2 separate regions of the Homo sapiens genome follow, and region 1 is linked to region 2. Evidence: promoter capture Hi-C in human tissues and cell types (Jung and others, 2019). All regions are on one chromosome and are shown on one strand. The core of a region is centred on a gene start or on the middle of the fragment in contact, and the rest is flanking DNA. Distances in the headings are between cores, read along the strand shown. Region 1 overlaps GABPB2 (GA binding protein transcription factor subunit beta 2). Region 2 holds the start of PSMB4 (proteasome 20S subunit beta 4).

Region 1 (2,700 bases), core at 93-2,592, 300 kb before region 2:
AAAAAAAAAAAAAAATTAATAGGACATGAAGTGTTGAAAGCATGATAAAAGTAAAGACAGGCAAGAAAATATTATAATATTGCATAATAAATAGATATCTAGTAAGTGCCATGGGAGCACAAAGGAGGGAATAGTGGAATCTGAACTGAATATTGAAGTAGGCAGAGAAGTGAGAAAACTATATTCTAGCCTAGAAAAAGAGCAAATCAAAGACACAGAGGTGTGAAAGAACGTGGAATGTTCAAGAAAAAGTAGTTGAGTGATGAGAGAATGGGCAAAGGAAGTAGAGTTTGGGAGTGGCAGATGCTAAGCTTGAAAGTTAGGCTGGATTCTGAATGTAGGGATGCTTTACAGCGTGTGAAGGAGTTTGAACTATTATGTGGGCGATGCATTTGGATAGAAGTTTTTAAATAGAGGACTGATATGACTAAATTTGGTTTAAAAAGATGATTGTTTGGAATGTGGCACACAGATGAGAGAGACACTTAATGCTAAATAACTATACGGTGACTTTCATTAGGCCAGGCAAGGGCCAATGAGAACTTGAACCAAGGAAGTGCTACTATTTCGCCACGTAGCAGTACTACTCTTCCCTCCTCTGTGCTCCCATAGCACTTACTAGATGTCTGTTTATCATGTAATATTGTAATATTTTATTTCCTATCTTTAATTTTATCGTGCTGTGAACACTTCATGTCCTAGTGGAGGATAAAGGAAAAGGGCAAATTCAAGAAGGAATTTAGGCCAGGCATGGTAGCTCACGCCTGTAATCCTAGCACTTTGGGAGGCCGAGGTGGGTGAATCCCCTGAGGTCAGGACTTCAAGACCAGCCTGGCCAACATGGTGAAACCTCATCTTTACTAAAAATACAGAAATTAGCTGACTTGGTCGTGGGTGCCTGTAATCCCAGCTACTTGGGTGATGGAGGCAGGAGAATCGGTTGAACTTGGGAGGTGGAGGTTGTAGTGAGCTGAGCTGAGATCGTGCCACTGTACTCCAGCCTGGGAGACAAGAGTGAGACTCTCAAAAAAAAAAAAAAAAAGGAATTTCACAATATCCAAAGAATGGATAACCTGTTTCATTTGAAGCTCTTAGTCAAGGGGATAATTATATATGAAAAACAGTCATTTCTGGCTGGGCGTGGTGGCTCATGCCTGTAATCCTAACACTTTGGGAGGCTGAGGAGGGTGGATTGCCTGAGCTCAGGAGTTCAACGCCAGCCTGGGCAACTCGATGAAACCCTGTCTCTACTAAAATACAAAAGAAATTAGCCGGGCATGGCAGCGTGCGCCTATAGTCCCAGCTACTTGGGAGGCTGAGGCAGGAACCCTGGAGGCGGAGGTTGCAGTGAGCCGAGATCGCACCACTGCACTCCAGCCTGGGCGACAGAGTGGGACTCCGTCTCAAAAAAAAATAAAAAGAGAGAGAGAGAGACAGAGAAAGCAAGCAAGCAAGCCATTTCTGCTGCATTTTCAGTATTTTTTTTTAATTGACAGGTGGTCTATATACTGGTTAGTCCCTTGAACTTTCAATTCTTTGTTTAGAGCCCTTTCATAACTGGACTTTTTAAAGTAGTGATTATGTTTGTAGAAAATTGCTTCTGAAAGTAATAAAGATAAGCTACTTTTCACCAAAATTGAACAGATATCCCTGGAAGCAAAAGTACAGCATATGGAGCGAGACTTTAAAATCTGGCACTTATTTATTTGCTTGTTATATATTCTCTCAGGAATTTTTTCAATGGCCGAATGGAACAAGTAGTTGGACAAAACTCTAGAGAATATTGTTCTCTATAGATACTCTGCAGGGATCTCTTGCTAGCACACTGACTTGTAGATAATTAATCATAAAATGTTAGTGCTGGAAATTACTTTTTAGGCTATTCAGGTCAACTCCCTCATTTTTCTTTTTTCTTTTTTTGAGACGGAGTCTCACTCTGTCGCCCAGGCTGGAGTATAATGACACCAACTTGGCTTACCGCAATCTTGGCCTCCTGGGTTCAAGCAATTCTCCTGCCTCAGCCTCCCGAGTAGCTGGGATTACAAGCACCTGCCACCACGCCCAGCTGATATTTTTGCATTTAGTAGAGACAGGGTTTCACCATGTTGGCCAAGCTGGTCTCAAACTCCTGACCTCAAGTGGTCCACCCGCCTCAGCCTCCCAAAGTGGTAGGATTACAGGCATGAGCCACCGTGCCTGGCCTGACTCCCTCATTTTTCAAATGAAAAAAACAAGATTCATAGAGGTTGATTGAATTGTCTAGAAGTTTTTGCAAATGATACACCTTTGCTTTCCTGAAGTAGGAACAAGCTTTGGAAAGCAACCTAACAACTCTGTTGGCCTGGTCTGAAAAAAAATGGTGGTCTTAATGAGAACTCTGATCTCCCTGGGACATTGTGTACCGGAACTAGTTATAATTGATAGAGCATTGGGATGGGAGTGGAATATGCTGTTCAGTAACTGTGTAACTAAAGCTAATAAGTGTTCTTGGGCTGGGCACGGTGGCTCAAGCCTGTAATCCTACCACTTTAGGAGGCCAAGGTGGGCGATTTGCCTGAGCCCACAAGTTCTAGACCAACTTGGGCAACATGGCAAAACCCTCTACTAAAAATACAAAAAATTAGCTGGGCGTGGTGGCGTGTGCCTGTAATCCCAGCTGCTCGGGAGGGTGAGTCATGAGAATTGCCTGAACCCAGGAGG
Region 2 (2,700 bases), core at 161-2,660:
AGTGTCCGGCTTTGTTTATCTTTGACAAAATTCACCAGTTTGATTCAAGACAGTTTCCAGCCCCTGCTATGGAGTTACACTGAGAAGGAAACCCCTGGAATTTAGTTTCACCCCTACACTTCCAATGGAATTTTTCTGTTTCTTTAGAGGTGGGCAAGGGCCCTTGACAATAAGGAAACTTTCAGACTTGTCTAAGGTCCCACAGAGAGTGCTTGATCCACCTGAGCTATCACACCCCACAGGGTATACACAAGTGTATTCTTTTTTTTTTTTTTTTTTTTTTTTTTTTTGTGACAGGGTCTCGCTCTGTTGCCCAGGCTGGAGTGCAGTGGCGCCACCTTGGCTCACTGCAACCTCCCTCGGGTTCAGGCGATTCTCCCACCTCACCCTCCCAAGTAGCTGGAATTACAGGCCTGGCTAATTTTTTGTTTTGTTTTGTTTTGTAGAGGTGAGGTCTCACCATGTTGCCAAGGCTGGTCTTGAATTCCTGGGTTCAAGTGATCCTCCCGTCTTGGCCTCCCAAAGTTCTGGGATTACAGGCATGAGCCACCGCACCCGGCCCTGATTCCTTTTTTTATTCTAGCTTCAAGATTCAGTTCTACCGTTATCGGCTGTGTGACTGGGTAAATCACTACACCGCAAGCCTCGGTTTCCTATTTACCAAATGGGTCGAATAATGCCTGCCACATGGGGCTGCTCTGAGGAGTACAGATGTAAGAGATCCTGTGTTCACTGATATTTTCATGTGGGCTTTTTGATAATGATACAAAAGGAACATGAGAACTGTGACTTCTAGGCCGGGCGAGGCGGCTTACTCCTGTAATCCCAGCACTTTGGGAGTCCGAGGCAGGCGGATCACCTGAGATCCGGAGTTCGAGACCAGCCTGGCCAACATGGTGAAACCCCATCTCTAGCAAAAATACAAAAAATTAGCCAGGCGTGGTGGCAGGCGCCTGTAATCCCAGCTACTCGGGAGGCTAAGGCACGAGAATCGCTTGAATCTGGGAGGCGGAGGTTGCAGTGAGCCGAGATCGCGCCACTGCATTCCAGCCTGGGGGCCAGAGCGAGACTCCGTCTCAAAAAAATAAAAAATAAAATAAAAAATTGTGACGTCTCACTCAGGATCAGCGTCTTTAAGTGGCCACCTCCCCACCCCACCTTCATGCCTCCCTCCTCCTTGAATCGTGTGTTAGAACGCTGTGATCTGGTCCAAACTCCACGGAGATGCGATGCGATGCGAAGCGATGTTGGGCAATTTCAACTCCCTGTCTCGGTCGCCACCTAGGATTACTGCATGTTCAGCTACGACCTCATCAACATGGCTGCTGGAAGTCGTCTACAGGAAAAAGAAAGAAATGACACTGAAGGATCACTTCCGCTTCCGTTGGCGCAAGCGCTTTCATTTTTTCTGCTACCGTGACTAAGATGGAAGCGTTTTTGGGGTCGCGGTCCGGACTTTGGGCGGGGGGTCCGGCCCCAGGACAGTTTTACCGCATTCCGTCCACTCCCGATTCCTTCATGGATCCGGCGTCTGCACTTTACAGAGGTCCAATCACGCGGACCCAGTAAGTTCTCGGCGCTTTCGTTTGCGTAGCGGGAGGGACCGTGGGGCCTGGTGCTGCCGGCTGGTTTTGAGAGCCCGGGAAGGTGAGGCGGGGACCCCGGGGGCGCGCGAACGGCAGGGGAGCTCAGGGCGCGGAGTCCTGGAGAATGCAGAATAATTGGAAGGAATTATAGAAAATCAGAAGCGCAGCTCAGTGCGCGGAAAGAGGGCGCAGTCCATCCCCCCTCTCAGCTCCCACCGTTCTCACTCTTTAGGAACCCCATGGTGACCGGGACCTCAGTCCTCGGCGTTAAGTTCGAGGGCGGAGTGGTGATTGCCGCAGACATGCTGGGATCCTACGGCTCCTTGGCTCGTTTCCGCAACATCTCTCGCATTATGCGAGTCAACAACAGTACCATGCTGGGTGCCTCTGGCGACTACGCTGATTTCCAGTATTTGAAGCAAGTTCTCGGCCAGATGGTGTAAGTCATCCAGAGAACAGGAGAGTGGTTCCCAAGTAGAGAGGGGAGTCCCCTGTTTTTTATTCCCTTCGATGGGATGGGGGGACTTGTTGCAGCGGGGGACTGGAAGAGTTGTTGGAGGTGGGCGATCTGTGTTTGCAATAAAGTTTTTGGCATTAGGTGTAAAATGGGGGAAGGTGTGGTAACTTCTTTTGGGGATGGGTGGAGACCCCGACTTAATTCTCTCCCTTTTCTCACAACCAATTCCTTTTAAGGATTGATGAGGAGCTTCTGGGAGATGGACACAGCTATAGTCCTAGAGCTATTCATTCATGGCTGACCAGGGCCATGTACAGCCGGCGCTCGAAGATGAACCCTTTGTGGAACACCATGGTCATCGGAGGCTATGCTGATGGAGAGAGGTTCATATGAATACAAATAACTTATTTCCTTTACCACCCAACCTAGTACCTGTGTAGTATCTCTTCTGTCTCTTCTCCCCAAGTGAATCCCACTTTAACTCAGACCCCATGGTCCCCTTCTTCAGCTAAGATGAATCTAAGGTGAAATGAGTTTTGACCCATTGTGTCCTGTTAGCTTCCTCGGTTATGTGGACATGCTTGGTGTAGCCTATGAAGCCCCTTCGCTGGCCACTGGTTATGGTGCATACTTGGCTCAGGTAAGTAGTAAGTCTAG

What was found. The method cuts DNA at HindIII sites, captures the fragments that hold promoters and counts their contacts. A contact is called where the count stands out against the background at its distance.
Region 1: a contact is called between a fragment that was not itself captured here and the fragment with the promoter of PSMB4 in region 2, in 1 of the 25 tissues and cell types used here (hippocampus).

Annotation. Positions count from the first base shown.
Region 1 is chr1:151,095,010-151,097,709 of GRCh38, forward strand. The region is part of intron 4 of GABPB2 (GA binding protein transcription factor subunit beta 2); the gene reads left to right. Among named protein-coding and RNA genes, the nearest start is that of GABPB2, 26 kb to the left of the region's middle. The HindIII fragment of the contact is 4,570 bases long and covers 1-2,700 here.
Region 2 is chr1:151,398,163-151,400,862 of GRCh38, forward strand. PSMB4 (proteasome 20S subunit beta 4) reads left to right here and starts at 1,411. Exons shown (of 7, transcript NM_002796.3): 1 at 1,411-1,565; 2 at 1,819-2,025; 3 at 2,280-2,426; 4 at 2,602-2,683. The coding sequence starts at 1,426. RefSeq lists enhancers at 768-1,490, 1,091-1,140, 1,491-2,212 and a silencer at 1,981-2,138. The HindIII fragment of the contact is 13,788 bases long and covers 1-2,700 here.